Linked DNA regions of Homo sapiens: region 2 is linked to region 1. The links are contacts of gene promoters, found by promoter capture Hi-C in human tissues and cell types (Jung and others, 2019). All regions are on one chromosome and are shown on one strand. The core of a region is centred on a gene start or on the middle of the fragment in contact, and the rest is flanking DNA. Distances in the headings are between cores, read along the strand shown.

Evidence for each region. Contacts are between HindIII fragments. The study calls those that stand out against the background at their distance.
Region 2: a contact is called between the fragment with the promoter of RBM39 here and the fragment with the promoter of MAP1LC3A in region 1, in 1 of the 25 tissues and cell types used here (dorsolateral prefrontal cortex).

Annotation. Positions count from the first base shown.
Region 1 is chr20:34,555,444-34,560,879 of GRCh38, forward strand. It overlaps MAP1LC3A (microtubule associated protein 1 light chain 3 alpha), which reads left to right and starts at 3,275. Exons shown (of 4, transcript NM_032514.4): 1 at 3,275-3,465; 2 at 3,765-3,820; 3 at 3,904-4,010; 4 at 4,293-4,902. The coding sequence starts at 3,426. The coding sequence ends at 4,455. It overlaps PIGU (phosphatidylinositol glycan anchor biosynthesis class U), which reads right to left. Exons shown (of 12, transcript NM_080476.5): 12 at 5,099-5,436. The coding sequence ends at 5,423. RefSeq lists silencers at 2,977-3,066, 3,407-3,456, 5,031-5,080. The HindIII fragment of the contact is 19,125 bases long and covers 1-5,436 here.
Region 2 is chr20:35,739,715-35,745,150 of GRCh38, forward strand. RBM39 (RNA binding motif protein 39) reads right to left here and starts at 2,546. Exons shown (of 17, transcript NM_184234.3): 1 at 2,227-2,546; 2 at 1,110-1,173. The coding sequence starts at 1,160. RefSeq lists a silencer at 1,926-2,025 and enhancers at 2,286-2,435, 2,449-3,134, 2,496-2,715, 2,886-2,985. The HindIII fragment of the contact is 31,582 bases long and covers 1-5,436 here.

The DNA of each region.
Region 1 (5,436 bases), core at 2,025-4,524:
CTAATTTTCTCATTTTTGTAGAGACGGGGTCTCACTATGTGGCCCAGGCTGGTCTCAAACTTCTGGGCTCAAATGATTTTCCAACCTGGGCCTCCCAAAGTGCTAGGATTACACTATTACTCCTTCTTAAATTTCTTTGAAACTCTGCTCATGGATTTTCTGTATTTATTATCTAAGTAATACATCTATGTAATAAGGCTATAAATCTGATTTTTTTTTTTTTTAAAGAAATGGATCTTATTTTGTCACCGAGGCTGGAATGCAGAGCTGCAATCACAGCTCACTGCAGCCTTGAACTCTTGGGCTCAAGCAATTCTCCAGTCTGGGCCCCCCAAAGTGCTGGGATTACAGGTATGAACCACCACACCTGGCCTGCCATGGCCCCCCTCCCAAGTTTTCTTTCTTTTTTTTTTTTTTTTGATGGAGTCTCGCTCTGTCGCCCAGGCTGGAGTGCAGTGGCGCGATCTCCATTTACTGCAAGCTCCGCCTCCCAGGTTCGAGCCATTCTCCTGCCTCAGCCTCCCGAGTAGCTGGAACTACAGGCGCCCGCCACCACGCCCAGCTAATTTTTTGTATTTTTAGTAGAGACGGGGTTTCACCATGTTAGCCAGGATGGTCTCGATCTCCTGACCTCGTGATCCGCCTGCCTTGGCCTCCCAAAGTGCTGGGATTACAGGCGTGAGCCACTGCGCCCGGCCACCAAGTTTTCTTAGCATATGTATCCTCATTTTTTGTTTGAACTAAATAATTTTTATTTATATATGACTTCATATTTAGAATAGGTTTAAATTTCCACACAGCTGGAGCTTACGCGGCTTTTGTCTGTGGCCAAAGAATATGGTTGAAACTGATTTGATATCTGTTGAGATTTGTCGTGCACCCTAGTAGTTGGGTCATTTTTGTAAATGTTCCTTGTGTGATTGAAAATAATGTGTTGGTCTCACACAGGTCTGAAATTTAAATTTTAAAAGTTAAAAAACTAACTGTCAGGTTTTCTATTGGGGTTCATTGATCTTGATTAGTAACTGTATTAACATCCTCTATGTCCTTTTTTTTTTGGTTGTTTGGTTTATTAGTTACTCAAAGAGGTCTTATGTCTCCCTATGATGGAGGACCTGGCAATTTCTCCTTGTGTTCTTAATATATTTTCAGCCTCTTTTTTTTTTTTTTCGAGACAGAGTCTCACTCTGTTGCCCAGGCTGGAGGGCAGTGGCGCAATCTCAGCTCACTGCAACCTCCGCCTAGCAGGTTCAAGCAATTCTTGTGCCTCAGCCACCTGAGTAGTTGGGATGACAGGCGTGCACCACCACGCCCAGCTAGCTAATCTTTGTATTTTTAGTAGAGACAGAGTTTTGCCATGTTGGCCAGGCTGGTCTTGAATTCCCAGCCTCTAGTGATCCACCCACCTCGGCCTCCCAAAGTGCTGGGATTACTGGCATGAGCCACTGCGCCTGGCCTATTTTCAGCCTTAAAAACAAAAACCCTGGAACATAGAAGTTCAGAACTTTCCTCTCTTCACAGAGTTCCTCCTCGCATCATTTCATGTTGATCCTCTTATCCCCAGTGTCTTCTGCCTGAAGGCCTATTTTGTCTGAGTTTTCTATAGGTACATCTTTTGGTTAGTTTTTCTCTAGTACACCTTTTCCCATCGTTTTACTTTTTGGTGCCCTTAGGTTTTAAATTTCCTCTTGTAAATAGCATAGAGCTGCATCTTATTTTTTCTTGGCCAATCTGGTCATCTGTGTTTTAAGAGGTGAATGTAAACCACATTTTCTACCTCTGGTTTTGTACTATATATTTACCATCCCTTTTACTTTGCTTCCTTTTTCTCCCTTTCTGCCTTCCATTATAGTTTTAATACCCATCACTACCCTTTTCTCTGCATTGGCAGTTATAGTTCCGTTTGTATTCTTTTGGTGATCCTCTTAAATATCTGAAATACACACCTGACTTTACAAAGCCAGACAATGCTCAGTCTCTTTAACCCCCTCTCAAATTGCCCTCTCAGTCTTCCATGTTCTTGTGTCTCATGCATCTTGTTTCTGTGGCCCACAAATTAATCATTATTATTCATATTGCATATTAAATGCTTGTTTAGATTCACATGTTTACCAATTTGCTCACCATTTTTCCATCTAATTTCTTCCTTTTGGGTTCCATGTCCTTGTTACTAAACTACATTCTTTAAAAATTATTTCGGCGGCCAGGCGTGGTGGCTCACACCTGTAATCCCAGCACTTTGGGAGGCCGAGGCGAGTGGATCACGAGGTCAGGAGATCGAGACCATCCTGGCCAACATGGTGAAACTCCATCTCTACTAAAAATACAATAATTAGCTGGGGGTGGTGGCAGGCGCCTGTAATCCCAGCTACTGAGGAGGCTGACTGAGGCAGGAGAATCGCTTGAACCCGGGAGGCAGAGGTTGCAGTGAGCTGAGATCGCACCACTGCACCCCAGCCTGGCGACAGAACGAGACTTCGTCCCCCTCCCCCCTCCCCCAAAAAAATGTTGATCTTCAGTCTGCGCATTCTGCTCTGGATTTTAAGCATCATTTCTGGCAGCTCTTTTTCAGGAACTGTCTCTGCAGGTCTTTCAGTGTTCGCCTCTGGAGCTCTGCTCGGGCCCGCGAGTTCTCCTGGCGTTGCCATCTGTGCCCTTTTCCTTATTCCCCATCACCTGTCTCTCTGGTGAGCTGCTTCCGATCAGCCTCCAGGTCCACGATTTCTCTTCTGTTGTCCTTTTCTGCCTTCTCACCTCATCCTCTGAGACCTGAATTTCGATGGCTCTACTTTTCAATTATATTATTCTTTTTCAAACCTGGGCGTTCATTTCTAGCATCCTGTTCTATCCTGTGTCTGACTGTGCCTCCCGCACCTTCTCCCTTCTCTCGCCCTAAGCCCCGTGAAGGCGCCGGGCCTTTGGCTCCGGCTGTTTCCCACGGCGCCCAGAACCGCGTCAGTCCTGACACAGACTCGGTGAGGGCGGGAAGTGGTGCCGTGGGGCTGCAGCCTGGCCCGCCCGCTCCATCGGCCTAGGGCGGCCCCACCGCCCTCCGGGCCTTACCTTGAGTTCGGGCTGCGGGAGAAGCTCCCGCGCTGCCCATGACGTCACGGGACTGTGACGCGCCCAGAAGCCCCGCCCCTCGCGTCCCGGTCCGCGGACCCAGGCTCTCTGCGCCGTGACGTCACGGGTCCGGGCGGGCGGGTTGTGCGTCGGCCCAATGGGAGCGGCGCACTGGCCTCCCCTTTAAGGAATGTTGTGACCTGACGTCACCGGGCGAGTTACCTCCCGCAGCCGCAGCCGCCGTGCTCAGCGCGAGCCCCGGAGCCCTTGAGCGCGAGGCGCGGAGCCCCCGGAGCCCCCAAACCGCAGACACATCCCCGCGCCCCAGAGCCCCGGCCTGCGCGCCCAGCCGGGCCCGCGCGATGCCCTCAGACCGGCCTTTCAAGCAGCGGCGGAGCTTCGGTGAGGCCCGGCAGGCGAGCTGCGAGCTCTGGGGCAGGGGTGCCGGCCGACCCCGACTGCCGCAGGTGACGTCAGCCCCGTGACGTCAGGCTCTGGCTGGACCCTCGGGCTGGGACCAGCTCCGGCCTGGGCGGGGGCTGCCCGCTTCCCCACCGCGATAGGTGCCAGGGGCTGTGGGGCCTGATGGCCCCGGGGGTGGGGGCTGGAGCTGGGGCGTGGCCGGGGGCCGCCCCTCCGGGACAGGCGGGGCGGACCTGGGCCGGCCCGACCCGGCCTCACGGTCTGGCCGCTGTCCGCAGCCGACCGCTGTAAGGAGGTACAGCAGATCCGCGACCAGCACCCCAGCAAAATCCCGGTGAGTCCCGCACCCCCAGCCCTGCCCCGCCCCCGCCTCGCGCGTTCCCGACACGACCCCCTGCCCGCCCGCCCTGCTCCCAGGTGATCATCGAGCGCTACAAGGGTGAGAAGCAGCTGCCCGTCCTGGACAAGACCAAGTTTTTGGTCCCGGACCATGTCAACATGAGCGAGTTGGTCAAGATCATCCGGTGCGTGGGCAGCCGCCGCCAGGAGGTGGCTAGGGTCGGGAGGGGAGCCGGGTTCCCGCCGAGAAGGGGTGGGAGTGGGGTCAGGGGTGATGGGACCGGGCGGTGGGCCCCTGTTCTGGGGTGGCTGGAAAGGTCAAGGTCGGGGCTGCAGTCGGTGTTGGGTCAGAGGTGACAGCTGGGGTGAGAATGGGTGTGAAAGGCTGGGAATCATTCTGGGGGTCAGGGCTATGTCCGTCCCGCAGCCAAGCCCCTCACAGCTGCATACTCTCCCGCCGGCTGCAGGCGCCGCCTGCAGCTGAACCCCACGCAGGCCTTCTTCCTGCTGGTGAACCAGCACAGCATGGTGAGTGTGTCCACGCCCATCGCGGACATCTACGAGCAGGAGAAAGACGAGGACGGCTTCCTCTATATGGTCTACGCCTCCCAGGAAACCTTCGGCTTCTGAGCCAGCAGTAGGGGGGCTCGGCCTGGGAGTCGGGCGGCCCCGGTCAGGCCCTGCCCAGAGAGCTCCTGGTTCCTGAACTGAGCTGCCTCTACCGTGGTGGGCTGGGCAGGCATGTGCCCCCCTAGTCAGAGGGCACCAACCCACCTACTCTGCCCCTGGGTGGATCCTGGGCCGGTCGTGTTAGGGTTGTCCCTCTGGGTGCTGGCTGGTGGGATGGGGGAGGGTGGGGAGCAGCTCCCAGCACCCCTGCTGTGTGGTTCATCTTTTTTTTAGGCCCCTGCCTGTCTGCCCATCTGCCCCTCACCCACCCGAGGCTCTGCCCACCGCCTGGACCTGCCCACCCCTGAAAGACTGGCCCCTGGCTCCCCGCCCCTCGGTCTCCACGTGGTGTATGGATCTGTGGTCATTGTCCCTCTGCAGAATAAAGATTGCTCAGGCCTGCCTGGCCCTGTGCCTCCAGCCGCTTGCTTGGGAGTGGGGAGGGTGCTGGTGGGGCTGCCCGCACCATCCCCGGGCTCTGGCGCACAGACTTGTGTTCTGTGGCCGCGGTGCTCGCTCTGGAAACCCACACCTGTGTGTAGTGTTCCAGAACATTATTAGGGGCCACCCCCTCTAGGAGTGCAATGCAGATGTGGTCTCAGGGTAGACTTCATAACAAAAAACATTTATTAAGTAGCCACAATCTAACAAGCCCTGCTCACCTGCCTCTTCTCCTTCCTGTCTGGGAGGGGGCTCCTTGGTGTGCAGAGCCACAAGGTGGGGGTCCAAGTTGGGGAGCTCCCAGTTCTTCCCCATAGGCCTTGCTGTCAGTCAGCCATGGGTCCCTTTTGGTACCAGAGACTTGTGACCCTGGACTCGAACCTCTTCTGCCCAAGCACTCGCCTGCTGGCAACTCTGGCTGGAGGGCTTGGCCCAGCTTCTGGCCCCACAGCCCCCTGAGGTCCATGCAGCCCTGTGCCAGCCAGGCCTACTTGAGCACGA
Region 2 (5,436 bases), core at 1,296-3,795, 1.2 Mb after region 1:
TAAAACAGAAAGTAGCTCTTCAAGAGTCTAAGCATTACAAAATTACATACACTATTTAAATCTATCAAGAATTCATCCAAATTGGTACCACATGGTCGTGCTATACAATCCAAAACAAATGTATTATTTTTAAAAGGTTTAGTGAAATGTTTATTTTAAAGTTTGATTACATCAGCTATAGGAGTAAAGTGCTAACTTACAAAGCTTACAGTTTGTGACACCAGTGATAATGCATGCATACTGCTATTTTCACCACCAACTGGTGAAACAATGAAAAGACAGTTTACTTTTACTGAGATACCGAAATGAGTCAAAGACTATATTAGCCAATATAATTCCTTTGTTTTTAGTGTGAAATACTATGGTAGGGCCTAATTAAAAATAAAAACAATATGGAGAACAGTAAAACAGTCATCAAGTGACTCTAAGCTTGTATTTACTCTAAGCTTGTATTAAGCTTGTATTGACTCTACTGCCTCTTGTATTTTTTTTTTTTAATTTCTATTCAGGGATCCAAGAATTTTAGTAATTATTAACTGAGCAGCAGATTGCCACTGGACTGTTTTAAGATTTACTATCACCAGTCTTACATAGATACATAAATTTTAAAATCTCACCCATTTCTTCTTATAAGACTGTTAGAAGATTTAACTTGCCACAGACTGGTCATGCTTTGTTATTCTTGGACCCCTGCTTTTTCCCAAACCACTACATTCACCTTTTTGCTATACCAAACTGGAGGTGGTAATTCTTAGTTGAGTCATTTTACCTAGGGGACCACGGTACAGCGATAAGTCACTCAATTACTACCTTATGATTGACAGTTCACACTGGAATCAAAGGTGAATTCATGGGAGTAGAGGTGAGATATCGTTAGGCAAGTCTACAAAGAGAGATAGATGGGCATTTATTCATCACGCTGAAGTGAAACTACTGCACAATATTATTACATCAATAGCATATATTTACTTTTGTAAGTTACACGTAATGCATCTCTGATAAGATAAATCAAGAGGGCTCCGGGGAGGTTAGTTTACATTTCAGCAGTAGTTTCGTGAATAATGCTAAATTAAGAAATATATAAACCTCACCGACATGTTTTTTCTCACCTTCTTGTAAGGAGCCTCAAGCATTGCTTCAATATCAATATCGTCTGCCATTTTCTCTAAACGCCTAGGAAGAGAACAAGACAATTTCTTGAGTAAACATTTCTCTTACAATGTGAAACAAGTTTCACTCTTGTTGCCTATATCGTCTAACATTTTCTCTAAACGCCTAGGAAAAGAACAAGACGATTCCGTGAGTAAACATTTTTCTTTTTTTTTTTTTTTTTTTTTGAGACGGAGTTTCGCTCTAGTTGCCCAGGCTGAAGTGCAGTAGCGCGATCTCGGCTCACTGCAAGCTCCGCCTCCCAGGTTCCAGCGATCCTACCACCTCACCTCCCGAATAGCTGGGATCACAGGCGCCTGCCACCACGCCCGGCTAATTTTTGTATTTTTGGTAGAGACGGGGTTTCACCATGTTGATGAGGTTGGTCTCGAACTCCTAACCTCAAGTGATCCGCCTGCCTCTGCCTCCCAAACTGCTGGGATTACAGGCGTGAGCCACCGCGCCCGGCCTGGTAAACGTTTTTCAAATCGACTGAATTTTTCTTCTCAGCCGACACACTCGAAAACTTAAGAAAAACCTCCAAAAGCCCTACAATTAATGACTAAAGTGACATGCACTTTAACCAGGTTTGGCTTACGTAAGTAAATCCAAAACGCCTCTTACACGAAACACACGAAAATGAAGACTTCAATATCCAATATTTAAAACTCTGCTGTCAACTCCAAAAACAGAAACTGGGAGACCCGAACGAGAGCGCCTCTTTCCGGGCAAAAACCCGCGCTGCCATTTTAGGGGCAAAGAGAAACTCCCTCCATTGGGAGGGGTTATGAGCCAAGGCAGCGTTCAACTGGCGCCATGTTGGGAGGTCGCGGCCGGCCCAGGCCTCGAAGGAGACAGGTCACCATTCTACCGCGGCCTCTCGGGGGTCCCTACCGCCCCAAGAATCCAGACTATACCCGACTGGAAAATAAGGGCGCGGTCACTGAAACAGGGCCGATTTCTCGAAAACCACCCCCCACCCCGGTCGCTAAAGACCTCCAAAAGCGCCCCTCAGCCCAAAATGGAGCCAAACCTCGAGAAAGCTGAGATAATACGCGGGTCCGCAACGCCCCGTACCTGTTCCGGCCTTCGGGCGCCTGTGGTGCTCGTGTTCGGGAAGAGATTGCTGCTGCTGCTGCTGCTGCTGCCGCCGCCGCCGCTTCTGTTGCTACTGTTAAGCCCCTAGGCCCAGGCCGCGGAACCGCCCAGCCCGAATATCGGGTTCCAAGGACGGCTAGGCCCGAGAGAATCTAAAAAAAACAATGGAATTAGAGAAGCCCACGCGGGAGAGCAGGACGGCGGCTTCGGCAGCTCAGGATCCACCCCTGCGACAGCGTCGACAAGCTCCCTGAAATGGCGGCCGCTGCTTCCCTGTACTCACATTCACCAGCACACATACACACACACAAACACACGGGGCCTCACAGAGCCCTCAGCACGGGCTCTCGCGAGAAGCTGCCCCAAGCTCCAAATTTGAGCGGCCGAAGTATCGCGAGACCTAAGTATGGCTCCGGCGACCGTAGCCCAATCTCGCGCAATGATTGCGCCACAGATATTCCCATCCCCCATTCAGTGAGGCGCCTTTCACTCCCCCTCCGCGTAAGCACCCAAATCTCGCGAGACAGAGCGGGTCTCTAGGGCAAAGACAGTTGGTAGGCTGCCTGTCAATCTTTCAGAGAGCTCTTCGCTGAGTGGAGCTCAGCGGTCACCTCCCCCTCGTGGCGCCTCCTCACGGCCATCTGAAGATTCCTCCGGCACAGCCGATCGCCCCCGCTCCGGCCTCCCACACAGATGGCTGTCAAGGTCGCCATAAGGCAACCTAGTCCTTATGGCGATAGGATAAAACGGCCATATTCAGATTATCCGCTGAGGGTGGAGAGGAAGTGGAAAAGTGTATCAGAAGGCCAGAAGAAGAGATCTTTAGGGGTAGGGGGAGAGGGGGAGATAATAAAAATAGATTTCCCTGTCATTTGGAGCCAATGGCGCGGCCTCCACTGTCGAGCTTTGAAACAACCTTGGAAATAGTGGAGAAAAGCAAAAAAAAGGTGGAAAAAATAAACTCTTGCTTCCCTTGGCATGGGATCAGTTTTGTGCCCCGAATTTAATCAGCTCTTGTGTCAGGGTTGCTACCGTTCCTTCAAAAATGTTCCCCTTCCTGAATATTACTGGACGATTTGGTGAAAAAATAAGACACCCCCCCAACAAAAAAAAAAAGGCCCCCTTCCCCCTGGGACCTGGCTCCTCTCCCCTGAAGTCTTCTAGATGCCAGGTAATTAGAGTATGAATTAGCCATTTGTTCTTTGGTCAGTACTGTGTGAGGTTTCCTCCTAGATGCTGGGAAAAAAAACTGGAAAGAAGTCTTCAAAGCAAAAATCTTACCCTCTAATCTTAACAGTCTAATGATTGAGGGCAGAAAAGATTGGAAATGAGACGCCTTGATTAGTGTAACTAGCTGCTGCAACACTGTGTGACCTTGGACAAGCAAATTAACCTCTCAGAGGGGATCTTTCATTTCCTGATTTAAAAGAGGACGTACTTAGTAGCTAGTCTAAGCTACTTGAGACTGAGGAAGGCAGGTAATGCTCAGTACTGAATTTTTAGAGGTTAGCAGGGCATGTCTGCCCAAGTGGACCCTCAGTAAATTAATGAATGAAGGCTCAGAAGGGCTATAGTGAAGATTAAATGATATAATGTCTGTAAAACGCCTGGTAAATATTTGATCTTCAAAACAGCTAACTTCTGTTTCTGCTAAACAAAATTATTTAGAGCAAATATAGATGTTAAGTGGTTTTGCCTCTCAGGTTAACTTTACACACAGGTTAGGATTTATCTTAGAGGATTATTAATAACAGTTATTTTGTAGTTAGAATACTCCCTTAATCCTTTTTCTGAAAATTCAGATCCTCTTTTTATTTTATTTCTGAGACAGTCTCGCTCTGGAGGCTGGGCGCAGTGGCTCATGCATCTAATCCCAGCACTTTGGGAGGCCGACGCGGGTGGACCGCCTGAGGTCAGGAGTTCAAGACCTGACCAACATGGCGAAACCCTGTCTCTACTAAAAATAAAAAAAAAACTAGGTGGCAGGCGCCTGCAATTCCCAGCTACTCGGGAGGCTGAGGCAGGAGAATCACTTGAACCTGGGAGGCAGAGGTTGCAGTGAGCTGAGATCATGCCATTGCACTCCAGCCTGGGTGACAGAGATCGAGACTCCATCTCAAAAAAAAAAGAAAGAAAAAGAAAGAAAAGAAAACTGTCACAGGAAATTGAAGCATAATATGTCAGAAATAAAGCAAGCTAACCTTTGCTATCTCTTCCTGCCCCTCGGTAATTCCAGTATTATGACTAGTGCAAAATGAAAGCATGAAGATGGCACTTGGTTTTTCTTGTTTGTTTAGGAACATGACATGACAGAATTTGACCTTAACCGCTAGACTTCTTGTTTGGGAAGAGGAAGGATTTAAGCTCTAAGTCGCTTGATGATTTAAGGTCCCTTAAATAGTTTTCTGCTCAAGGACCATCAGAGGCAATATGGCAACTTAGCAGATCATCAAGAAAAGCCGTTTGGAAAAATCAAGTTTCTGAAACAAGTATTTTTTATGTTTAAAAGAAAATATCCCCAGGCATGGCGGCTCATGGCCTGTTATCCCAGCACTTTGAGAGGCCAAGGCAGGAGGATTGCTTGAGTCCAGGAGTTTGAGACCAGCCTGGACAATATAGCAAGACCCTGTCTCTACAAAAAATTTAAAATTAGCCAGACGTGGTGATGCATGTCTGTAGTTCCAACTACTCAGGAGGCTGAGATGGGAGGATAGCTTGGGCCCAGGACTTCAAGACTGCAGTCAGCTAGAATCACGTGCCACTTCACCCCAGCCTGGGCTGCAGAGCAAGACCCTGTCTCTTAACACAAAAGAAAATATCACGAACATAAGATGCTTCTCATTCACTTTACAAAACTTCACTAACTCTGGTTCATGAACTTTCTATGTAAATTAATTCCCCTTTCATCATTTTGCTTTCAAAAGATGGAGGAATAGAGCTTGAAATAGAGCCAAAAAGGTAATGAATATACTTAGAGAATTTGGCTGAAAACTAAATGTATTTTACCAATGTGGATTTTTAATTTTTTAATTATTAAGGGTACATTTTAAATGTATATGTTTATCAGATACATGTGGTTTGGTTTTGTTTTGTTTTTTGTCCCCAACAATCTACAGCAAGTAGAATTGTTTCGTTTTTTAATTGAGACAGGGTCTCACACTGTCCCACAGGCTGAAGTGCAGTGGCAAC